Regions from separate parts of the Homo sapiens genome. Here all the other regions are linked to region 3. Evidence: promoter capture Hi-C in 16 types of primary human blood cells and fetal thymus (Javierre and others, 2016). All regions are on one chromosome and are shown on one strand. The core of a region is centred on a gene start or on the middle of the fragment in contact, and the rest is flanking DNA. Distances in the headings are between cores, read along the strand shown. Region 1 holds the start of GAREM1 (GRB2 associated regulator of MAPK1 subtype 1). Region 2 has its middle 69 kb from the start of GAREM1. Region 3 holds the start of RNF138 (ring finger protein 138). Region 4 holds the start of B4GALT6 (beta-1,4-galactosyltransferase 6). Region 5 overlaps B4GALT6 (beta-1,4-galactosyltransferase 6). Region 6 overlaps B4GALT6 (beta-1,4-galactosyltransferase 6). Region 7 has its middle 87 kb from the start of GAREM1.

What was found. Contacts are between HindIII fragments. The CHiCAGO score rates a contact against its expected background, and 5 or more counts as called.
Region 1: a fragment that was not itself captured here is called in contact with the fragment with the promoter of RNF138 in region 3 in 3 of 17 cell types (activated CD4 T cells, non-activated CD4 T cells and naive CD4 T cells); the score reaches 7.3 in activated CD4 T cells.
Region 2: a fragment that was not itself captured here is called in contact with the fragment with the promoter of RNF138 in region 3 in 1 of 17 cell types (total CD4 T cells); the score reaches 6.5 in total CD4 T cells.
Region 4: a contact is called between the fragment with the promoter of B4GALT6 here and the fragment with the promoter of RNF138 in region 3, in 2 of 17 cell types (fetal thymus and monocytes). The highest score is 7.2, in fetal thymus.
Region 5: a contact is called between a fragment that was not itself captured here and the fragment with the promoter of RNF138 in region 3, in 1 of 17 cell types (fetal thymus). The highest score is 5.7, in fetal thymus.
Region 6: a fragment that was not itself captured here is called in contact with the fragment with the promoter of RNF138 in region 3 in 1 of 17 cell types (fetal thymus); the score reaches 7.1 in fetal thymus.
Region 7: a contact is called between a fragment that was not itself captured here and the fragment with the promoter of RNF138 in region 3, in 1 of 17 cell types (non-activated CD4 T cells). The highest score is 5.3, in non-activated CD4 T cells.

What each region holds. Positions count from the first base shown.
Region 1 is chr18:32,470,198-32,473,532 of GRCh38, forward strand. It overlaps GAREM1 (GRB2 associated regulator of MAPK1 subtype 1), which reads right to left and starts at 685. Exons shown (of 6, transcript NM_001242409.2): 1 at 111-685. The coding sequence starts at 231. RefSeq lists a silencer at 440-959. The HindIII fragment of the contact is 1,838 bases long and covers 863-2,700 here.
Region 2 is chr18:32,538,142-32,541,795 of GRCh38, forward strand. No RefSeq gene overlaps it. Among named protein-coding and RNA genes, the nearest start is that of GAREM1, 69 kb to the left of the region's middle. The HindIII fragment of the contact is 4,340 bases long and covers 1-3,428 here.
Region 3 is chr18:32,089,986-32,093,665 of GRCh38, forward strand. It overlaps RNF138 (ring finger protein 138), which reads left to right and starts at 1,889. Exons shown (of 8, transcript NM_016271.5): 1 at 1,889-2,250; 2 at 2,715-2,901. The coding sequence starts at 2,792. LOC124904278 (a long non-coding RNA gene) reads right to left here and starts at 1,960. Exons shown (of 2, transcript XR_007066327.1): 1 at 1,870-1,960; 2 at 1,290-1,517. It also overlaps a transcript of RNF125 not described here. RefSeq lists an enhancer at 1,588-1,637 and a silencer at 2,308-2,727. The HindIII fragment of the contact is 10,157 bases long and covers 1-3,680 here.
Region 4 is chr18:31,682,687-31,686,423 of GRCh38, forward strand. It overlaps B4GALT6 (beta-1,4-galactosyltransferase 6), which reads right to left and starts at 1,895. Exons shown (of 9, transcript NM_004775.5): 1 at 1,626-1,895. The coding sequence starts at 1,740. RefSeq lists a silencer at 1,992-3,031. The HindIII fragment of the contact is 10,803 bases long and covers 1-3,737 here.
Region 5 is chr18:31,640,076-31,643,402 of GRCh38, forward strand. All of the region lies in intron 4 of B4GALT6 (beta-1,4-galactosyltransferase 6), which reads right to left. Among named protein-coding and RNA genes, the nearest start is that of B4GALT6, 43 kb to the right of the region's middle. The HindIII fragment of the contact is 1,180 bases long and covers 1,357-2,536 here.
Region 6 is chr18:31,664,151-31,667,435 of GRCh38, forward strand. B4GALT6 (beta-1,4-galactosyltransferase 6) reads right to left here. Exons shown (of 9, transcript NM_004775.5): 2 at 2,106-2,222. Among named protein-coding and RNA genes, the nearest start is that of B4GALT6, 19 kb to the right of the region's middle. The HindIII fragment of the contact is 1,633 bases long and covers 630-2,262 here.
Region 7 is chr18:32,556,064-32,559,317 of GRCh38, forward strand. No RefSeq gene overlaps it. Among named protein-coding and RNA genes, the nearest start is that of GAREM1, 87 kb to the left of the region's middle. The HindIII fragment of the contact is 609 bases long and covers 1,140-1,748 here.

The DNA of each region.
Region 1 (3,335 bases), core at 532-3,031, 380 kb after region 3:
GGGCGGGCAGCCCACTCCCCGCGGGTCCCACCCTCTCCAGCACACGCGCGCACACCCGCGTGGAGACGGCTGTCCTCGCCCGTCTGCCCCGCGCCCCAGCTGGGACTCACCGTTGTCCAGGCGCGCGATCTGGGGCAGCCGGTAAGTGCTGACCAGGAGGTCGAGCGGCACGGCCACCGAGCTCCACTTCACATCCTTGAGGCTGCAGCCCAGCGAGGGCGCCGGGTCCATCTTCCCCGAAGCCTCCTGTCCCGCGCTCCCCCGCCGCCGCCACCGGCACCACCCGCGCCTCGGCGGCCGCCGCTGCTCGCGCTCGCGGTCTGGGGCGCGCGGGAGGCGCCGGGCAGCTCCGGCCGCGGGCAGCCGGGGGGGCGCGGCGACTGGGGCGGCCCGGAGGGAGGGGGCCGGCGCCCGGCTCAGCTGCCGCTGCGGGGCATGGCTGGGGCGCCCCGCGTGCCCTCACGCCCGGAGAAGACTCAGAGCAGCCGCGCGGCTGCGGGCGGCGGCGGCGGCCCGGGTGGCTGCGGCGGCTCCCGCTCCGCCTCCTCCTCTGGCCCTGGGTCTGCAGCTGCGGCGGCCGCCCGCTCGCCTCCTCCTCCTCTTACCCCTCCTTCCCTCCGCCTCGAGCGTGTGAGGAGGAGCCGCGGGTCTGAGAAACGCCATAGCAGCGCTCCCAGCACTGACTAATCAACAAGGTGCGAGCAACGCCTGCGCAGCTCTGGGAGACACCGCCTCCGCCTCCCAGGCGCCGCCCGCTCCGCCCCCAGCTCGGCCTCCGCCTCCCGCAGCTCCCGCGGCCCGGCAGGCTCGCGTCAGCTCCCCGGCCGGGGCCGCCAGCGCCCGCGGCTCGGCGCGCTCCGCAAGCTTTAGCTCTCGCTCCCCCGTCCGACCACTCGGGCGCCCTGCAGTCTCGCCGGGTGCTGCTGCGCGCCCCGGCTCCTTCCCCGCCCAGGCCCGTCCCCGGAGCCCGGGAATTGCCGAGCGAGCTCAGGTATCGCTCCCTGAGTCGTGGTGTCGGGCACCGTCCGCCTCCACTCCCATCCTGGCAATGCGGTGGCTAAATACAAGGCACAAAAGATACCTTTAGTGGCGCTCCCTCTTGCTTCCCGGTGACCCAGACTTTGGTCAGAAGAGTACCACAGCCCAACGGGGCTGCGGACGGCAGGCGTGGAGCACGCCTTGGCGTTTCCCCTCAACCCTACTCCTCTACCATCGGAGCTGGAAATGACTCCCAACAGTCTCAGCTTTGGCTACTAGATAAGATAAAAAGGGCAAAGCACCGAAAAGCGGAAAGGTGGTGGGTGATGAGTACCCACATACAGGAAGGTGGCCATTCGGTCTAGGACCTTCACTGAGTGAACGAGCTGCTGGAGGCGACGGGAGTTGATGAGGCCACCAAACACCGTAGACACGGAGATGGGAAGGGAAAACTAGGTTACTGGGAGGCTGCTGGGGTCAGCTGTTCTCACCCGCTTTTCCCATTCAGTTCTCTTCTCATCTTAAAGGTTGGGATCATTCTCGTTTTCTAGGTATATGTACCAAGACATTAGGTAGTTTGGCAAGATTTTATAACTCGTAGATGGCCGTGCTGGGATTCAAACCTACAGTTTGCTTTGCATGATCAATCATTCTCTGTCTCTCCCGATGTTTGACACGGCCTGCTCACTGTGGACAGAGCTCAGAATATAAAGGTGGCATGTCCTGCCTTGTATGCTAATCTGCTTTCTTTCTTTCTGTCTTTCTTTCTCTTTCTTTCGCTTGCTTAACATTTTGTTAAAATAGCAGAGGTGAGTGGTTGCTAAGGTTGCGTATCTGCTCTGTTTTCAACACGTATTCAATGTTCAGTGCTTGATAAGGTACAGCAAGTACCCGCTTCGCCAGCCCAAGGGGACTTGAAAACATCCCGCTGCCTTTTCGTGGCCTGGCTTAAAAGGTCTGTGCTAATAAACCACTCCATTAACATTTGAAGAAAAACACAGATTCTTCTACACCCACCTTCCTGATCCTCTCACTTTGAAGCATTAGCGATAATTTTCACAAAATTCATCTGAAAGTTTTGACCTTTGGGTCATTCACATTGATTTTTTGAAAAAGTCTTGGAAAAAAGTGGGAAGTATTTTACTATAGAGTGTATGCAGAATCAGAAGTCCATAAAGTTCTAAGAATTGCTCACATAGAGTGTTTCGGCCGGGCGCGGTGGCTCACGCCTGTAATCCCAGCACTTTGGGAGGCCGAGGCGGGCGGATCACCTGAGGTCAGGAGTTTGAGACCAGCTTGGCCAACGTGGTGAAACCCCGTCTCCCGTCTCTACTAAAAATACAGAAAGTTAGCCGGGCGTGGGGGCAGGTGCCTGTAATCCCAGCTACTCAGGAGGCTGAGGCAGGAGAATCGCTTGAACCCGGGAGGCGGAGGTTGCAGTGAGCCGAGATCGTGCCATTGCACGCTGGCCTGGGCAACAAGAGCGAAACTCTGTCTGAAAAAAAAAAGTTTCAAAACTTTAAAGATTTAAGTGCCAGCTAATTTCTTTTTCTGAATAATTAATCACTTCTGGAAATAAAGCTCAGAATCCAAAAATGACATAGGAAACATCTAAGATTGGGCAGGGTCAAGGGTCTTTCAACCTGTAAGTAGATCCTAAACCCTTATATGGTAGGCTGATTTTTAAAAAAATGACTTTGTTACTTTTATATTCTCTTTAAAAGCTTCAGAGAATAAGAGAAGTAGTTTCCTCTCACAAAAGGACTGGTGACTTTTGACCTAAAGACAAGATAAAAAGTAAAAAGATTAATGTAATCAACTTTTTAAAAATCAATAAAGGACTTACATTAGATCTGTTATTGCTGACCTTGCAGAAAAGGTTTTATTTCAATCTTGAGTATTAAAAGGAAGAAATTTTAGTGAGCTGCAAATTCTTAGTAAGTTTCATGTCCTGGAAGAACTCTTACAGAAGGATTTTATTTGTGAGATGGAGAGTTTTGGTTAAACTGCCGAAAACAAAAACAAAAAGCAGTTGAGAGGGGTAATCTTTCAGTCTGGCTGAACTGTACTTCCAAACATGTTTCTTAAGGTTGTTGGAACAATGCAAACTGTGTATACAAAAGCATTACAACTTGGTGCAGGGGCAAAGCTTACAGGACTTTGAAGTTTATGAAAAGGAACATCCAAGAAAAGTTTTCTTTAAGGCAACAATTGATGCACTGGTCCCTTGTTCCTACTAAGTACCTTTACAAACTGAGATTTGTGAATTAAAATATCAGCTCCAGAGCCAGATGGCTTGGATTTGATTAGTGGCTCTGCTTCTATTTAATGTCATGGGAAACTTGCTGTTTCCTCCT
Region 2 (3,654 bases), core at 9-2,508, 450 kb after region 3:
AGGTGACAGCAAGACCCTGTCTCTAAAAAAAAAAACAATAAATAAAATGAATGTTCTATCAATTGGTAAATGGCTTCAGTTAGACGATACTGGCACAGCTGTGCTGCATTTGTAATATAGGTTCACAACTGTATTCTTTTTCTCCCTCCTTTGACATTTCCCCCTGTTTGACTTGCTTTTCAGCATGCTTCCCCATCTTCTCTCACAGCATTTATCATAGTACACTGCATTTACAGGTTTGCTTGTCTCCTCCAATAATCTGTAAGCTCCTTAAATACGAACAATGTATTACGTCAGTAGTTCCTAAACTTAAGGTTGGTAGGAATCACCTAGGGATTTTGTTAAAATGCATATTCTGACTCATTAGATGTTGAGTGGGATCTGATTCCTTCCTAATAAGACCCAGGTGACGCCAGTGCTGTTAGTCTAACGGGATTACTATCGGTAGAAAAGTCTTTAACCAACTTTTTATTCCCAGTGCTTAGTAGAGTGTCTGGTACATAGCAGACTTTTTGACAAATGTCTGTTGAATAAATGGCCTATTCTACCTTGCCAAAGTCTTTGCTAATATTTCCTTTCATGTACCTAAATCCCAAGTTATGATTTTAACATCACCCTATATTTTTAGTTTTCCATGTCAATTTCTTAGCTCCTCAAGTTACTCTCTCCTGGACAGTTCACTTTCGTGTCATGCTGAAAACAATTTTGCAAATCCACCTCAACTACCACCATATTCTCCAAATACTTTCTCAAGTCTCCTCCTAGGAAATGATTTTTCTCTCCTTCTACTCAATTTTGCTTCTTCTTTTAAGAAGAGATAGAAAATGTGCCTGTTTTTCTATTTTTCTTAATGTTTTATGTTTACTTCCATTCAAATCTTGCTCGAAGTGCTACCCCTAACCCCAGAACCTCCATACTATACATACTTTAGGAGGAAGGGAATCTAAATCTTCACTTTTTCTAATTACTGTATATGTAATAGGACCCAGTAAGTATTCATGGAACCAATGAATCAATGAACATAGGTGAGTGAGTCAAGGCAAATTTTGTGAAAAGAGGAAGGACCTTGGCTTCCCTTCTTGACTTTTCATATTTGAAGTATTTCAGGGAGAACTTGTAGCTATCATACATATCTTCCAAAGTCTAAATAAGCCAGTAGGTTCCTGTGGAATTTAGATAGAGTGAGTGACAGGTTTTACCAATGATCTCCCAGCTTTTGGCCGGACACAATGGCTCATGCCTGTAATCCCAGCACTTTGGGAGGCCAAGGTGGTGGATCACCTGAGGTCAGGAGTTCGAGACCAGCCTGGCCCACGTGGTGAAACTCTGTCTGTACTAAAAATACAAAAATTAGCCAGGTGTGGTGGCGGGCACCTGTAATCCCAGCTACTCAGGAGGATGAGACAGGAGAATCACTTGAAGCTGGGACGTGGAGGTTGCAATGAGCCAATGTTGCGCCGTTGCACTCCAGCCTGGGTGACTACATCTCAAAAACAAAACAAAACAAAAAACAAAAAGAAAATGATCTCCCAGCTTTTTAAAATATTTAAGATGTGAAAATGGATCAAGGAATGTGAATGTGATAGTGTCACATCTCTGTTCTCCTTGTTCTCCTCCTACTCAGAAGATATAATCGCCCTGAATCATCTTGACACCTGTTTTGTGAAAATACTCCATGTACACATAAAAACCAGTGTTCCAGACAATCATTAAGTCTTTTATTCTGCAGTCATCTCACCAAAGATCAGGGAACTTTGGAGTCTGCTGAACAAAGTGACTCTGTTTCTTGGGATAAAGTGTCCCAGGATCCAGAAATAAGATAACTAGTAGGTAAATGCAAATTTAATTTTAGAACATAGCAACATACATCTTGTATGTAAATTGAGAGTGTCCTTTTAAGTTGACAAAGCATTCTAGCTACGCTTTTATTTACTTTATAAATAAGAGATTGGTCCAAATTTTAAAAGAAAAAGTCTGCCACTGGCTTATTTCATGACCGTGTTCATGAAAAATAGGCTATGAGTTTCCTATTTGAAACTTAGACATGTATAGTACTTGATATCTGAGTAAGGTGAGGTATTGTTTGCTTTAGTAGGTCAAACAGTATTTTCTTCTACTATTTTTACATTATTAATTTGCCTACTGTTTAAATAAATGGGAGGTACGTTTTCTCAAGGCTGGATATATCACCATTTCTGAATTAGTGGGATCTAACTTAATGGATTTTCCACATTCATCCATCATCTATCTTTTCCAGTTTGGTTTTCCATGCCCATATCAATAACCAGATAAACTAGGTGAGATTAGATCCTTATGCAAATAACATAATTTGTAAACACCCAAAATGACTCCTCTGCCTTTGTCTCCAGAGATAATATTCAAATAAAAATTACCATGGATACACAATTAGGTCACTTTATTTTTCTTTAAAGAAAAATATTTTCCTTGTCTTCATTAGGACAAGATTAGTTGAGTCATAAGCAATCAAGACTCTCCAATGTTTCGTAAAATACATCAAAACATTCAACTGATGAGAGTTCAAAGCATTGAGAAATACTGAAGAGGCAGGCATGCAGGCAGGAAGGAGGCTGGCTGGATGGTGTCGGGGTGCAGGTTTATTTGTGTTAAACCAAATGGGGCATTTTGGGCAGAGTTTCTTCTGAGAGAGTTATTTTAGGATTCCAGGTAGTCAATCTTTGTGACTCCCCATCTCTCCCAACTCACCACATTCCTCTCCCCATTTTCCTTAATCTTTATGAGGCACTATTTAGTAAATTATCATGATGAAGGTTGTGGCCATCCCTTGGCACATGTGTGGTGGTGGTTTGGTTTGCTTCCAGTGTTCTCCCCTGTACCACTCTCCCTGCCTCTCCGCCCGCCACTTCCTGCCTTCATTTCTCTCCTTGCAAGCAATCTCAGTCCTTCCAGCTTTTCCAGCTCTTTCCTACCCACTCTTCATCTCCCACTTCCTGGCTGTGTGATCTACTAGGGCCTCATGAGCTGGTAGAGCTTTTAGCAATCATAAAAGTGACAGGTGCTGTTGCATAGAAGACAGGGGACCTTATATGTTCCTTCCCCTCAGTATCACCACGGCCCCTCTACCATGTCACCTAAAGGAATTATTGTTCTTTCAAAGGGTTTAGGCATTTTCAAACACATCAACAAAATGCTGCTCTTACCTAAAAGGGAAAATTGCCATCTTAATTCTGATTAAATTTTAGGAATGTGTTTATCATAGAGAAAAACATCTATCTATTGGTTTTATCCCCCCATCTATCTATTGGTTGGTCTCTTCTTTATTCTTCTCATCCCTGACATCTCTGCTCACCTTTTGCAGGTGTCTTTGTAAGTCTTTTACCCACTTCCTCTAAACTTTGAGATTTGACTTTCAAGGTCTCGTTCTCAATGAGGCAAATAAATAAATAAGAAGCTTGTTTATTATTCTGTCATTATTGCTTTATCATCATGACATGAAATACTGAATAATGAGGATGCAAACACCCATTTTAAGGGCCTATCACAGTCTTCTCTGTATAATTAATACCTATCATTAGATGAAAGTCATATCATTTGCAATTTGATGCAGCTTTCTTCAGAATTTCTTGATGACTCCTTGGTAGTTTATATGCTAGTGCACCTGTTGCTTGTAATCAG
Region 3 (3,680 bases), core at 639-3,138:
CTGTAATTCCAGCACTTTGGGAGGCCAAGGTGGGCGGATCGCTGGAGGCCAGGAGTTCGAGACTAGCCTGGCCAACATGGCAAAACCCTGTCTCTACTAAAAATGCAAAAATTAGTTTGGCATGGTGGTGCATGCCTGTAATCTCAGCTACTTGGGAGGCTGAGGCAGGAGAGTTGCTTCAACCTGGAAGGCGCAGGTTGAAGTGAGCTGAGATCATTCCACTGCACCCCAGCCTGGGTGACAGAGTGAGATTCTGTCTCAAAAGAAAAAAGAAAAAAAGTGAGTTTTCTTCTCTGGGCTGTTAAAAATTTGAACTCAAAGAACCATTTTATAAGTGAATGTGAAAAGCACCTGAACTACTGCTATTAGCTGCCCCTCTCGTCACGTGCTCTTCCTCCTTCCAGGAAATCTGAAGCTAGTATTAGCTTTCTTGTCTTGCTTCCACTGCGCTTGCTGCTAAGGAGGAAAAGCAACAAAAATACAAAATATAGTTTGGTAGAGGGAATTAGCTATTCATTGGACAAATTATTATTATTCTAGGAATCAATGCTTTTGAGATGTACATTAAAACCCATTTCCTCCATAAAGTTTTCTGTTAACTCTATATATTTCTAATCATTCCATTTCCTATCCTCATTATAGCCATCGTTTAATGCAAAATTTAATACTTTGGCAAATACCATTTTTTCTCTCTCATTCTGATAGATATGTAATAATGTAAACAGGTTGAGAGCAAAGTTCATGACATCTGCATAACACCTAACAATGCCAATGTCAACATAGACAATAAATGGCAGAATTGATTTAAATAGTCCCTTAAATGGCTTCTGTTTATTCATTTAGACCATGGGGGAGGGTTTTAACAAAGGATGGTAATAAAACCTTTCTTTTCTCTGAAGCTAATTGTAGATGCTGTATAATGTTCCAGATTTTCCTTAGCTTCTTTCACGTCATTGTGGATCCCATCTTATCGATTTATCCTTTTTTTGTTCTTCTTTTTTTTTGAGAGTCTCACTCTGTCGCCAGGGCTGGAGTGCAGCGGCGCGATCGCGGCTCACTGCAACCTCTGCCTCCCGGGTACAAGCGATTCTCGTGCCTCAGCCTCCCGAGTACCTGGGATTACAGGCTCCCACCACCATGTCCGGTTAATTTTTGTATTTTTAGTAGAGATGGGATTTCATCACGTTGGCCAGGCTGGTCTTGAACTCCTGACCTCAAGTGATCCAACCGCCTTCGCTTACCAAAGGGCTGGGATTACAGGTGTGAGCCACCGCGCCCGGCCTTTTTTCTTTCTTTTTTTTTTTTTTTTTTGAGACGGAATCTCACTCTGTTACGCAGGTTGGACCATCTTATAGATTATCAATTGTACAGATAATTGCACTCCGGCCTGGGAGACAGAGTGAGTACCTGTCTCAAAAAATAAAATAAAATAAAATAAAATTAAAAAAAACACTTAAATTAGTGAATAACCTTGGTGAAAAGCCACGTCCATGCTTCTACGGCATTTCTCTTCAAAGCTAAAAAAAAAAAGAAAAAATCAAAAATCAACCCAAAGGTGTAGTAGAAGACTGCATCTGCGACCGTATTTAAGCATCGGTCATGCTGTTAAAGGAGAAAGTGGACATCCTCTCAAGGAAACTTTAATCCTGCCCCCAAAGGATTAAAATCCCGTAACAAATATTTGTTTATAACACATCTTGACAAGATCAAAACATTCTGGTAGGGCAAATAGTAAAGACTAAATCTTGAACATTGACGAAAACTTCCTGAAAGGCCCAATGTATTTGACAGGAGAGGTAACTGGGGTCCCGGGCCTAGCGAGGCGGGGCGGGGAGGCGCAGGTGTCACCGCGGGCGCCCAGCTGCTTACGTCACAACCCGCGGAAGGCGCCGTGCGCCGGTTGCTATACAGGCCGCACTTCACACCCCGTGCCTCCCCGCCTCTCCTGGCTCCTCCGCCCAGATCCCCGGCGCTCCCGCGTTCGGTGACGGCCGGGTAGGCTGTAGGCAGCGCAATGCCAAGACAGAGCTGCTGGCGGCGGCGGGCGAATCTCCCTGCACCATGAGCCTCGGCTCCGGCCCCGTTAGGGGCCGATAAGCACAGCGCACGCCGCCCTCCATTTGCCCCGGGGCCTCGGCTGCGAAGATAGCGGCGGCCGGACAGGAAGCTCGAGGAAAGCGCTGGGCCGGGTCTCTACGAACACGTGAAGGAAAAGCAGCTCCGTCCACAACGCCGCTTCGGGGCTCCTAGGTGAGAGTCTCCCCGGCGGAAGCGTGGAGGGGCCGGGGTGCCGGGAAGCGGGGCGGGGAGGAAGCCGCGGACACGGGCTGGGCACTCGGGGCTCGGGGTCGGGGTGAGTAGAGGCGGAAAAGCAGTGAAAAGGGAGGCCTTGGGCGAAGACGGGGGCTGAGGGCGGGGCGCGAGCCCGCGCCTGGAGCCCGGTGAGGGCGTGGCCTAGAGCGTGAGGCCGCGTCCTGGGGCGGGGTGAGGGGCGAGCGGGGCGGGCCCACGGCATGCTGCGAGCCCAGCCTCCCGCCAAGCACCGTCCCCCATCCAGCCCCCTGTGGGAGGAGCCGTGGGAGGGGTCGCCTCTTGCCCGGCGCGTGCGGCAGTAGCGTCTCTGCGTTCGGCCCCGCCCTACCCAGGGCCCCGCCCCCTTCCTGGCGCGCGCTGTATCCTGATGCGATCCCCCTCCCCCCTCCGGGTTCATGTAGGGAGTCGGGCCCCGGGCCGCCACCGTCACCTCGGCCGCTGCCGCTGTCGCCATCGCCTTGTTTCCCCATCCCCCGCCATGGCCGAGGACCTCTCTGCGGCCACGTCCTACACCGAAGATGATTTCTACTGCCCCGTCTGTCAGGAGGTGCTCAAAACGCCCGTGCGGACCACGGCCTGTCAGCACGTGTGAGTAGACGCCCCCTCCCCCTCGCGGAGCCGGGTTGTCGCTTAGGCCCGGCCTCCGGCCCGGGACCCCGGGCTGCCGCCTGGCGGGAACCGAGCCCGCCGCGGCCTGCCCGAGCGTCGCTGCCCCGCGAGGTCCCGTTCCCCGCCCCTCAGAGTCCCGGGGCGGCCTTTTCCTCAGCCTCGGGGCCCGCTCCCCGCGTCCAGCCCCCTCAGCCCAAGCTCCCGCTCTCCCGCTCTCCCGCTCTCCCGCTCTCCCGCTCTCCCTGGCTTTCGCGCCCCCGGGGCAGTGGCCAGGCCGTTCCCTGCGGCGTCTTCAGGCCCCGGAGGCCCCTGTCGTCTCCGCCAGGCCCGGGAGGAATTGCAGGGATCTTGGAGCCTTTTTGTTTCTTAGCAACCCGGGTGAAGGCTGGGGTGTCGAGTGTCAAAAGCGGCCGGCGGTGCTCGCGCGGGCCCGCTCGCCCCGCGACCTGCCCTGCTTTCAAGTTTCCTCTTTCAGAACCTTGGTCCGTCCCCTCGGTCCAAGAGCTCTTCTGTAACTTCCCCTCAACCCTGCTTCACAGAACACCCTCGAGAGCGTTTTGTTTCGTTTCCAGTCCACTATGTGTTAGAGGGATCTAGAATGAGTTTTCTTCTCTGGTCTCTTAAAACTGACAGGATTTTCGGGCATTGAAATGAGCGTTCCCCTTTGTTTTACCTTTCTGCTTACTTATTACTTGATTAATACAAGGGTGGAGAGGAGAAAGGAAGACTTCTGTTATGAGGAATGAGCCGAAATTGAG
Region 4 (3,737 bases), core at 645-3,144, 410 kb before region 3:
TAATACTAAGAAAGTGGGAAAATTGTTATGTAAGTGTGAAAAAAACTTTCTCCAAAATCTTTCAAAGTTAAATTCCTAGTAAAAAAACATACCCCAAAGATGTCCAAACTTTTAAAGAGTTACATGAGAAAGTAAAAATTGCTATAGAATGAAGAGTTAATTTATAAGACTCCAAAATGGCAAAAAATAAAGAAAGCTCTTGTTGAGTATCTAGATAATATCAAATCCACTAAGCTACCACTGTCATTTGTACTATAGGCTTCAAGGGGTAGGTTTTTGTGAGGTTTTTTGTTTTTTCTGGCCTAAAGGAAAACTGCAATAATGTTAAAATATTCTTCAAACTTTACCCTAAAACTTCTATTTTGGGATACGTCAACGTTTCACAATGCATTTCTTCTTAAACATCATCATCTGAGTTTATACACCTCACTGAATCCAAAAATTAATTATTAAAGAAAAAGTCTCATAGTAATTTTAAGAAATGAAGCAGTCTGGATTAGGTTTCCATCTTCCTTCCCTGCTGCAATTCACTGCAATAATCTACTACACTCAAGACAATGCCCTGATCATTCCATCTGAAAATTCTGCAGGTGTTTTCACTCTGTAAGGGGCATTACATTTTTAGCTAACTCGGAACAAAGAGCACTGGCTCAAACGACCACAGTGTGTAAGGAGAAATGAGAGGAGATGCTCACTGTTACTAAGTAATTGAACATTAAATACGTAATAGCCAGGAAAAACTCAGAAAAGTTTTGGAAATATGACATATTTTAATATGCATGTGAAGTTCATAATTCTCATTCACTAGAATTAACGCCGCATTGGCTCCTTTTCAACAAATGGGGGACGAGGAATTCGGATATTTAATAAAGAAGTTAATTCAAGCAGTTTTACAAAAGTGTATTTTGCACCAAAGGCCAAAAAATGATAAACCGGTTAACATTTTAAACTACAAGTTCCCTTAGATAACGGTTATTTTAATCACTATTTTCTCAGAAGTCATCCTAACAGGTAGCAAAGGCAACGTACCCTTGAAAATAACACCCAAGCAGACTAAAATAATGGAGCATTGTTTTTACAAGACAACTCATCGCCTTAAAATTCCCCAAGTATGGCACAAAAAGAATGGGGTCCACTGACCCCATTCTAAAAAAGCGACCTAGGACCCTAGAAAACACACATTGTTGGACTCAATCACATTCCCTGCTGCTGGCTCCTCCATATTTTTACAACCAGTTATTATACCCGAGAGTGTTTGAATAAAACTACGATTAAGCACTCAGTTTAGGCTTAAAGACTTAACATTAAATGGATAAAGCTGTCATGAACACTCAAGAAAGCGACTAGGGCATCCCGGGCCATCACACTAATTTTGCTACGTCTATTTAATGCAATCTTTTACGTTATTAACAAACATGCATTAACAAAATGCATGCATTAACAAAACTCACATACCAAAGCCATGCCCTGAAGCAGTTTGACACGTCTGAAATAACATTTAAAACAAAACGCTTTTCTGCGGGCCCCTGTTTGAACAGCTTCCAAATCCCAGAAGTAACATCGGATAACAGCCTGCGCTGGCTGTGGTGTGACCAGGGGAAGCGAGGGTGTGTCTCGGTGCTTACCGATGCCTGGGGCCACATAGATGAAGTACAGACAGGACGAAGAGAGGGAGAAGAAGAAGATGAAGGCGAGGAGAGAGCGATTGGAAACCCGCATCATCCGCCTGAGCACAGACATCTTCCTCTTCCCTGCCAGCAGCCCAGGCTGCGCTCTCAGGCCGGACTCGGGGCCACTGTCCAGGCCCTAAACTTCCATAAATGTGCTGAGAACCCCGAGACTGCAGCGGGGTCCGCGCGGGGAGGCTCTGGGGAGAGGGCCCGAGCGGAAAAGAGGAAATGGGAGGGAGCGGACGGAATGAATGGGAGGCCAGAGAGTCGGGGGAGGGGAGGCGCGGAGGCCGAGGGACAAGAGGTGGAGGGGGGAGAGGGGACTGGGGGCTAGGGGCCCGGGGACGGCAGGACGGAAGAAAGCCGGGGAAGGGCGAGGAGGAGCGTTTTCTCCGCCAAGCAGCGGCGGGAGGAGGGGCTGCAGGTGGGAGGAGGCGCAGGCTGCGCGCCGCGGCGCCCCTGCGGAGAGGGGCAGCTAACTGCAGCACGCCCGGCTCCGCTGCCCGCGCCCGGCGGGGTCCCGCCGCGAAGCCCCGTGCTTAAGGTCCGGGCCGCCCGCGTCCGCTCGGCAGGCCCTGCGCCGCCTCCTACTCCGGGCCGCGGCGTCTCCTGCCTGCGCGGGGCTAGCGTGGGCGCCGGGGCCGCAACCAGCGCGCGCCACGCGCGGGGGCCCGCGGGGGCCCTCGGGGCCGAGGAGCTGGGCGCTCGCCTGCACCGAGCCGCCTCCTCATGCCGCGCCGGGCCCCGGCGCCCCGCGGCCGCCGCGGGAGCTGAGCACAGGCCAGGGCGGCGTCCCGGCCAGCGACGAACGCGCTCCGACTCCGGCCGCCGCCAGCTGCCTGCCTGGCCGCAAGGGCGGCAGCGGCATTACCGCCGCGCGCCCGGGGTGAGGCGCCCCCGCCGGGCCCGCGGACACCAGGCGAAGAGCAACCGGGCGACGCGCGCTGCGGGCAGAGCCGGGGAGCCGGAAGAGCAGAGGCCGAGCGCCGTCGGAGCCGCGTCTGGTTGGAGAAAGAGGCGGACGTGAAGGGGCGGGGGAGCCGCGGAGGAAAACCGGGACCGGCGGGAACGTCTCGAGACCCCTGCGCGCTTCGCGCGCTCGCTCGGAACTCGGCAGGCGGCGCTGCGCCGGGCCCCGAGGAAACCTGGAGGTCCCCGCCCTCCCCGCGCCCGAAACACCGCGCGTCCTGATAGGCCCGCGCCCAGCAGCCCCCTCCCCGCGCCCGCCGCACCGGGGCCCCACCGCCTCCTGCGTCACCGCCGCCCCCGCCCGCCCGGGGACCCCGCGGTGACCGCGCTGCTGGGGGTTGAGGGACGCGTTGCGAGCCCCGGATACATTGTACCCTGGGGGTACATAATGAAGGATGCTGTACCTGAAAGGAAAAGGGCATCTCCAAAAGGGGACTTCGCGGGTGGAATTTCCTTCCAAAATCCTCGAGGAACAAGGTGTATTTCCGACCTGGATTAATGAATCCCCCCTCCTATCCCGCACTTCCTGTGGAAACAGTGTCAGGATGTGGCGCGGACCTATGTGCGTCCCTTATACCAGGACTTGCCTTCAACGCTGAAGGTGAACCCTGGGTCATCCTCGCTGTATTCAGGCGGCGCTGCAAAGGCTTCTGGGCAGCCAATAGGCCCTTGAGCGCCTCAGCCCCATCTTGCTTCAGTAGGCAAACGGACGGGTGTCTTCATCCACCTCCTAGGCCGTGGTCTACCCTTCGTTCAAATGTTTCTTCCTGCTAGCTGACTGTCCAGGTCCTTAGCTGTATCACATTGTTCAAATGTGTGTGCGCAGGTGTTTCTTTTTCAACTAATCATGCAGGAAGTGGCGGGATGCCTTACTGCCATTATTTGCTGAGTATTTCCAGATGGAACTGTAGTTGATAGCCAATAAATTTGGTACGTTTTTATCGGGATGCGCATGCCATAGATCGTCCCTGAGATAATGCTTTGCAATGTGGAACCTGAAACACCTATGTATAAGCCCAAGCCTTTCATTAATATTAACTGTGAGACCCCTGGAAGCTACTACTTTGTGTGAGCCTGTTTTCTCCGCCCTCAAACAGT
Region 5 (3,327 bases), core at 697-3,196, 450 kb before region 3:
ATCATTAGATTTTCAAAAAAACACAACAGTGAAAGTATATCTAACCAAAATACCTCTGTGTTACTCTATAATCTGGATTTTTTAAATATACAATCTAAACTGGTTGTAACAGAATATTGTGAAAGAATATTAAATCCATGATTTACTAAAATTTTACCTATACCAAATAAAGTTTATTAATAAATGAATAAATGGAAATAATTGAGAATACTTAAGTTTTGCACCTAATCCTTTTAAAATCAGGACATGATATTAGATATCATCAAACGAAAATAATATTTAACCATGTATTTTACGTTACCAGGATCATAGATGGCAGAAATTTTTAAATTATTCAAAAAGTTTCATTTATAAAGAGAACAAAAAATGATTTAGTAAAATTGAAGATGTCTAAACTATGAACTCCCCCATTCATTTTCCCTTAATGCTGATGGGATAGCAAAAACAAGAGACAATGGCTGCTATGAGGCTGATGTTTTCATGATAATAATTAATCACAGCATATCTATCTGGCAAATGGTAGGAACTAAAGAGGTCTGGTGCCCCTGCCAGCCCAACTTTGGGTCCCATTCCTTTTTGGTTTCCCCATAACGTCTCTCTTGGCTCAGAAGCCTGAGGACCATGAGGCTACCCCAGCAATACCGACCCAACATCCAAGACCTCCTTCCTGCCCCCGCACAATGGCTGCCAACTGTACTGGAACTATATACTGAGGGGCACTTACTGCTGGGCTTCAGCGCCAATGGCTGGCATATTCAAGGAATTCCCGAATCAAAACAACTGTGAAGCTAGCTCAGGGGTTTACTTTTAGGATGGAAAAGTGCTATGAAAAGTAAAAGGAGCAAAAGAGGTTAGATGGTGAGTACATATCCCACCACTAACCTTATCTAAAGCATATCCATGTGATAACATGTAGCTTAGTAAGTCAAGCCTGCCCTTCTTGATTTTGAATTTGGCCACGAGTTGGCCACCTATGACATAATGTCAATGAGCTGTAAAAGCAGTTAAGGCCAATTACAGATATTTGAGGGAAGAAATTATTAAATGGCTGCAGAGTCCCAATTAAAGACAGTGCATATTAATTAAAGACAATTAGACTGAGTGATGAGCTGAACATATAAGGATAAATAAAAAGTAAAGTTCTAGCTCCTAATACAATAATCTCTTCAATGAAGTATTTAAATATCAAGTGTTTTTTCTTTTAATCTCATAAGGAAACTGAGACGGTAATAAAAGAAATTACCAGTGTCTTGGCAAATTCAAATAAGCTAACCTAATGTGCTAACAGCAAATAGATGTCCAAATTTTAATGAGAGGGTTATTAAATATTGTGAATATGTGATAAATCTAAGGCAAAGCTTTTATTAAAATAAAGCTAAACAATATCTTAAAAGTTCATCTGGCACATCAGTTCTTGTGTTTGTGGAAGAATGTCCTCCATAGTTTACAATTTTTTTGTCTAGAAAAGATCTCAGTGTTCTGTGATCATTTATTTTAAGGCTTAATAGCCTGTTTCAGGACATTCTTCTATGTGCCCTAATTTGCTGTTTGAGCCACTCTCTTGCTGATACACCTCCAGTGGAGACCGAGAATATCTGGTCATTATCTTCTGATAAAACAACACTTCATCCTCCTGAATCTCTCCTCACCACCTCTTGATCAAGCAAAATTATTCCATTCAGTTTGCTCCTACTTTAAAACCACAAATCTTGCTGAACATATGCACCATTTTTTCCCTTGCTTATTTTCTCCTATATACACCATGAGGAGAACATCAAGAAAAATGTGTATCACATCAATTTCTCCCACCAAGTTTCTGTCCTGCTTTCAAATTTTCAGCACACCACCAGCTACACTGTCCCTAAATGACATGGCTTTAGGCTTGGTAACCTTAAGGTGAATCTAGTTATCTGCCACTGAGTAAGCAGAAGCTAGTAAGCCCTCATTCTCCTTCAGTGTTTTTAGTTTCATCTTCCTATTCCTCCTCATTTCCAGTACCTCCAGGAGCAGTTCTCAAACTGGAGGCACTTGGTTAAAAATGCAAGTTCTTGTTCCTTCCCACCAATAGAATCAGAATGTTTGAGGACTGAGTTCAAGAATCTGCATTTTTTTTCTTTTAGAGATGGGGGTCTCATTCTATAGCCCAGGCTGGAGTACAGTGGTGTGATCACACCTCACTGCAGCCTCAAACTCCTGGGCTCAAGTGATCCTTCTGCCACAGTCTTTCAAAGCACTGGGATTACGGGTTTGAACTACCACACCTGGCCAAAAATCAGCATTTTCACCATATGCCTCAAGTAGTTCTGAAACAGGGAGGCCAAGACTCATCTTTGAGGTACATTGGACTATAAATGAAACTCCAGGCCTCTGGGTAGACAAGAGCATCAAGCAGCTGCCTGGTTCTTTAAGCCTGGAAGTTATAGACCAAAGTTGTTCATCAAGCCCTCCATCTGAAATCTGAATGGAAAGTCAATGTCACAGGTACACTTCACTTTTAATGACCTGCATAGCATTCTCATGTTCTTCTTTAGATACAAGCTTGCCCCAGAAGGTGTCCAACCTGCGCAGATCTTCTACTTAAACCTGCAGCATTCAAGAATACCTAGGAATTGCTGAAATTACTAGTGGTTTTTTGTTTGTTTGTGTTGCCCAGTCTGGAGCGCAGTGGGCGCGATCTTGGCTCACTGCAACCTCTGCCTCCCGGGTTCAAGCAATTCTCCTGCCTCAGCCTCCCGAGTAGCTGGGATTACAAGCCTGCACCACCACGCCCGGCTAATTTTTTTATTTTTAGTAGAGACGGGGTCTCAACAGGTTGGCCAGCCAAAATTACTAGTTTTGAAAGATCTCAGTTCTAATTAATTTGCCATCAACTAACTGCATTGGTATTTTTCTCATTTAAAAAAGGGGCCTCAAATATTAAGAATCAAGTTGATGACAGATGTTTAACATAAATCTAGTTATTTCTTATTTCCCTCTCTCTCCACTGTTCCAATATGAGAATGGAACATTATCAGTAAGCAGGCAGGGACGGGTAGGGGGAGAAACCATTTAACTAAATATTTAGTGAGATGATAGTTATATAATATTTATATGAGTACAGCTCACTTCTGAATCATCTCCAAAATTCCTTTCATACCTTTAGTTGTGTAATTCTGAACTAGAGACTACATTCTGAGAAGGATTTGCTAAAAGTTGAAATAAAAGCAGCATTATCATATAGTTCCTAAATAAAATAATTTATTTTGAGACAGCTTGCTCCTTCACCCAGGCTAGAGCGCAGTGGTGCGATCTCGGCTCACTGCAGCTTCCACATCCCAGGTTCAAGCA
Region 6 (3,285 bases), core at 196-2,695, 430 kb before region 3:
CCAAGTTCAAACAGCAGCCATCTTAGACTATGAGTTAACCATGGAGCCACATGACAGATGGCAGAAAATGAAAAGTGTGTGATGACTTACTTTAAGGAGCCTCCATAACAGCCACAGATATCCAACTTGCAGAGTTCTTTCACATGAGAACAGAAAGCCTCATGTGTTTAAACCACCACAGGCAGGTCTCTGTTACATCCAAACCTAATCCCTAATGTATACAATGACTGTTTCCTGAGAACAGTTTTACCATTAGTAAAGGAACCCTATGAAAAGTTTTCAAAGTTTCATAAAAGTAAGCAAACTTTAATCTAAGTATGCATTGGTTCTTTGGTCTTTATTGAAACTATGACTTGGTGAGAGGAGGAAAGGATTTTCCTTTTTTTTTTTTTTTGGTTGCAGGATACTATGGGGAAAGATTGTCTTGCCCATGTAATCATTCCTCCTAATCAAGCTCAACATCCACACATATACCTTATTCATACCCCAGGGAAAACAAGCTGATATGCACAAATTTTTAGCACTCACACAAATACACCAATTTAAAGATGTCTATTTCCTTTCAGTTGAACAAACTTTCAGTGAACATTTTTACAATCAACTTATTCAACCAGCACAAATCCTACAGAAGCTTTTAAAATGTTTAAACTTCTAAAATTGACCTACTATTCAGAAGACTCATTCATGCTAAAGAATAGTTAATGAGACTTTTACTGTAGAATTAAAACATCAACTATGCTGAGGCAGTTCTTCTAAAAAAATTCCTTCAAGGTTAAAAAATTAAAATAAAACAAGAGTGTTTTGATTTGTGGCATCATAAACATATTAGGCAAATGACTAGAATGGATTTTATAGAAGCACATGTGATATTAAATTGAGATCAATATGTCACAGTCTTGAATTTTTAGAAGGGTCTAAAACTATCACCCACCTTGACATACATTTAAGAAAGAACATCTACAGCTGAAAGACAGACTTTCTCTTAGTAGAATGTGTAGGTTTACAGTGACACAAGGAAGAATTACTAACACAAATTAAATCTTTATTTTTAACTGTTCAAAATGAGACCATAAAGGGTACAACAACTGACAACCCCACTGAATCCTTTAAAGTAACACCTAATAATACCCTGGCAGACACTGTGGCAACCCTGCCATAAACGAGCATTCACATTCTTCCACAATAGTGAAATCTATTTACATCAATTCTACCATCATTAAATTATTGGTTCAGCCTATTAGATTTTAACCTCCTGGAATTCTAATGGAGCTTCTACTTCCAGGTAACATTTTAAAAAGACAAGAGTAGGCCGGGCACAGTGGCTCATGCCTGTAATCCCAGCACTTTCGGAGGCTGAAGCGGGCGTATCACGAGGTCAAGAGATTGAGACCATCTTGGCTAACATGGTGAAACCCCGTCTCTATCAAAAATTTAAAAAAAAATTAGCCGGGCGTGGTGATGGGCGCCTGTAATCCCAGCTACTTGGGAGACTGAGGCGTGAGAATGGCGTGAACCTGGTAGATGGAGCTTGCAGTGAGCCAAGATTGCGCCACTGCACTCCAGCCTGGGCAACAGAGCGAGACTCTGTCTAAAAAAATAAATAAGTAAAATAAAAAGGAGTAGCTACCAATTTCCAATTTTATAAAATTTCTCCTTTAGCTCCTTAAAAAGGCCATAACACTATTAACAATCTTCTATAATTAAAAACAACTATTTTCTAGACCTAGTTGGAAGAACAACTTAGGAACTAGAATGAACATAAAGAGAGATGGTAGTATGGCTTACTAAGATGAATAAATTATTCTCTGGTTAATTTCTCTTAAATACAACATACGAATTGAAAAAGTAGAAGCTGCTTTCTATATTTTGTTTACAAGAATTAACTTAAGTGTCTGTACAAAACCTCATCACTTTTGTGACCACACGTTCATACATCCTAAAATAGGTAACAGTCTTGATTTGCACAGTAAAATAATCTACCAGGACGCTTAGGGGAAGATACCTTCTTCATCTTTAACAGGAAGTTACCTGAAGGCAAAACAGACTGTAAAAGATTTGGTTTACTGCTTTGTAACTACAAGGGGTTAAGCAGGAAGTAGTCTTACCTGTACCGTTGAGCGTACTGTTTTTATTTGTGTACAGCCTGATCATATGACCTATTGTTTTCACATTTTCTCTCAACATTATACCTCGAGCTTGTACCATAAAGAGATATGTGTTGGCTATAAAAGAAAAATAGAGAAAGAATGTCATAACACAGTAAGCTTTTTTTTATTTAATAAAATAATATTCAGAATTGGGGAAGTGCCCAATAAACATAAACTGACTCAATCAGCACGTCCAAACGCAAAACAGAAATATAAAATATTGCCTACTATAAAAACTGACAAAAACAAACTGATTTTTTAAGAATAAAAACAAAAAAAAAGTTGAAATACCCACCTATCAAATAGAATGAAACTAACTGAACAAACTAAAATATTATAATGAACCCCCACATCTGTGATTTTCTACTATAAAATATACTTAGAAATTTCAAAAAGGCATTTTATTACAGATGCTCAATCCTACAGTTACAAAATTCAGTTTCTCTAATTATATATTAATTTCCTACCAAAAACTTCACAAAAGCTAGGATTCCTTATAAATCCCATAATATCTAGTAGGAATAAAGATCTTGCAATGGTCCTGAAAATTCTTGATGTGTTTGCGGGGAGGGGTGATCTAGGATCAGTATCTGTTTGGGTCATTTCTAAGAGTTAATTAAACTTTTACACTCCCTTTCAATCACAAATCTTTCTACCAGGATGGTAAAAGCAAATAAAATCAAAATCAATGTGTATTTTTAAAGCAGCTCAATTTAATTATTCACAATAAGTGCTTCAAAAATAGGACCCAAATTTCTTCTGCTGGGAGAAACTGGTAAATTGACAAAGCTTTATCGCAAAAATCCCTAACTTTTGAGATGTCCAGACTCCCCAGAGGCACAGAACTAAGTCAGAAACTCCTTTCCTGGTCCCAATTCTGTTAGTGCTGTGCATAACTTTGTACAGCTCCTTGGATCTCAGTTTCCTCGTTTTCACAAGGCAGGTGTGCAAGTAGTGCATTCTTCTTTAAAGTCTCTAAACACAAAGCTAAAAAATCATAAACTCCATTCAGATGAGAGGCAGAGGCTCACTATCATGGCAAAAACCAAGAAACTGCAAGCCTCAGTGAATGACTCAATTTTAAGATAAGCTGTCTCTGAATACAGTAATGACACTCTCCAAAGATGAATGCTGAATG
Region 7 (3,254 bases), core at 194-2,693, 470 kb after region 3:
CACTGCGTTAGCCAGGATGGTCTCCATCTCCTGACCTCGTGATCCGCCCGCCTCGGCCTCCCAAAGTGCTGGGATTACAGGCGTGAGCCACCGCGCCCGGCGGGAAAGACTATTAAAAGCAGATGAAACTATGGACCATTACATGAGCCATGAAATGTAGTTTTCTTAAAACAACAATGATACGGTTCGGCTCTGTGTCCCCACCCACATCTCATGTTGACTTGTAATGCCCATGTGTTGGAGGAGGGGCCTGGTGGGAGGTGATTGGATCATGGGGGTGGATTTCCCCCTTGCTCTGCTCGTGATAGTGAGTGAGTTCTCACGAGATCTCATGGTTTAAAAGTGTGCGGCACTTTCCCCTTCACGCTTTCTTTCTCCTGCCGCTCTCTGAAGAAGGTGCTTGCTTCCCCTTCGCCTTACACCATGAATGTAAATTTCCTGAGGCCTCTCAGCCGTGCTTTCTGTACAGCCTGCAGAATTGTGAGTCAATTAGACCTCTTTTTTTCATGAATTACGCAGTGTGAGAATGGACTTATACACAACATGGTACTACAGCAGCTAAAGTGAACCAGCCCATCTTATTGTTTTAATTTTGACATCTTTTCAAGTAAAATTAAAATGCTGTTGGTGTCACTTAAAATAAAATGTTTAACAATAAGACAAGGTTGAGAAGTTGGTTATAAGCAGACGTCACTGGGGAGAAGAAAAAAATGCATCTCAAACTTGAGTCACGTGGCATGTAATTACACAGAGAGAGGTGCACAGCTCTAAAAAATGCATTTTGAAAAGCATTACATTTTGTAAAAAACATCAACCCCTCAGGTCTGGAGTTGAAGAATGAGTCACGTCTGAAAGCAGGGAAGTGCTTGTGATTTAGCATTTTAACTCTTGGGGAATGGCTTTATACAGAATAGCTGGGAAGATTTAGCAAAATTGGTACTTTCTCTTTAGAACCGTGAAGCCGCAGGATTCCTGAGAAAAGTGGGCACGGTTGGTGCTTAAGCTTTTAGTCAATGAGTGTTGTGAAAAATAAGAATAAAATCATAATGACTTTTTCAAATTAAAATGATGTTAGAGGTCACTAATAATCTAAATAGAGATGACCATTATATATAGATGGAGCCTAGCTGCAAGGTCTAAGCTTGCCTAATTTGGTCCAAGATTGCTGAAATATTAAAAAAGAAAAACAAAACAAAGATGCCGGGAGATATGAAGCTCACCCATGCTCTGACTACCAGCCCCCTGCTATCCTATCTTCTGCATTTTTAAGACCATGTTGAACACTAGTTTTGACTTACCCTCACAAGCCTTAGCTTCCTAAAAGCAGTGGCTTAATCATTATCAGGTCACTGAAATCACAGTTCTCCCAGCACCCAGAGTCAAAATTCCTGAGTCTTCTTTGATACCTTCTTTAATTTCATCTCCCATATCCTGTAAGTCATTGTGCCTTTAGGATCTTTTAAAAAATATCTGAGATTTGTTCCTTCCTTTCTACATCTAAAGTCACATCAGTCTGTGACCTAATCATCTCAAGCCTGGATTGCTAAAATTGCTTCCTAGAAGCACACTGCTATGACAATAAAAGTATGCCTGCACATTTAAATTAAAGAGCTGTTACTACCCTTGATGAGTCTGTAACTGCTAACAGTTTTTAATGTGCTGAATTGTCTACAAAATTACTTGTGTAAACTTCATCAAAAGCATATAAATGTATTGCAAAATTCATAATTATAAAATATAAAGTGTAAAGCTTATTGAAAATGCATCTCCTATTGAAATGGATAAAGATGGCATTTTCCCCCATCAGTTTGTCAATCTACAGATGAATATTGCTTATCACTATAATGGGACAGAATTCACCTTCAGTTTTCTCCTCCCTCTCTCCCTCCCCACCTCCTCCATCCTTCTTCCTCACTCTCTTTTTCCCTTTCTTTCTTAACCTAGGGGTGGGTGCTGAGAAAACTTGCTGGCAAAAGTTGGTGGAATGGAAGAAGTTTTGAGATAGGACTATCATTCAGTTATTTGAAGTCCCTCTAAGTTGTATGCCAGAACAATATAGTAATTCATAATCAAAAGTATTTTTAATTATTTGGCAGCTGATGACCTCATAATGACCTCATATAATTTTGTAAAATGCAAGCATTGGAAACCCTCTGATTTTGCAAATCATTTAATTTCTCAATATCTAGGAAATGTATTAAAAAGACTTTAATACAACTTATTAGCTATTATTCCCATTAGTCTTTAACTTAGAGACCCTTGTTTATGGTGCTAAAATGACATAAAACTGGGGTAAAAATAACTCCATAAATTGGATGCTTTGTACTTTAGGAATGTACCCATTTTTTTTCTGAGCAGAGATCTATATATTAATGCCAAATTTCAATTAATCTAGGAAGTTATCTCAAAAGTCTTTAAAAGTCATGACACCTGAGAATTATTATATATAAATTCTAATATTAAGTTTTAATGGAAAATAAATTTTTACAATTATATATTTGACAGAATTAGAAGAGATTTGAATCCTCAAAAGAGAAACTAATTCTAATTCAATGAAGCTGGTTTTCTAGGATTTAATTTGTTATATACTAGAATATGATATGGAAACATTTTGTCTGACAACTGCATAAAGGAGGATATTCTGTTTTAAGACTATAGGTTTATATTTTTGTAAAAATTGACATAAAAACTATAGACCATTATTAATTATAGGGCTTATAAAAGATGTTTTAAGTTAAAAGATGCACTAAATTAAAAGATGGATTAAATATTGCTCTCAGTACATGACTTATGATAGACACCTATAACAATCCTTTTATTTTAATCTTAAACTCTAAAGTCTGGATTATATAAGCATGGAAGTAATTGACAAATGCAGACAAATGGGAGACTTGTGCCTGAATGAAAAACGAATATCTGTTTATAGCATCTAATAAATTTTTTTTTTGAGACAGAGTTTCACTCTTGTTGCCCAGGCTGGAGTGCAGTGGTGCTATCTCGCCTCACTGCAACCTCTGCCTCCCGGGTTCGAGCAATTCTCCTGCCTCAGCCTCCTGAGTAGCTGGGATTACAGGCACGTGCCACCACGCCCAGCTAATTTTTGTATTTTTGGTAGAGATGGGATCTTGCCATGTTGGCCAGGCTGGTCTCAAACTCCTGAGTTCAGGTGATCCACCTGCCTCAGCCTCCCAAAGTGCCAGAATTACAAGCATGAGCCACCGCGCCCAGCCTATAGCATCTAATAATGCTTTGGC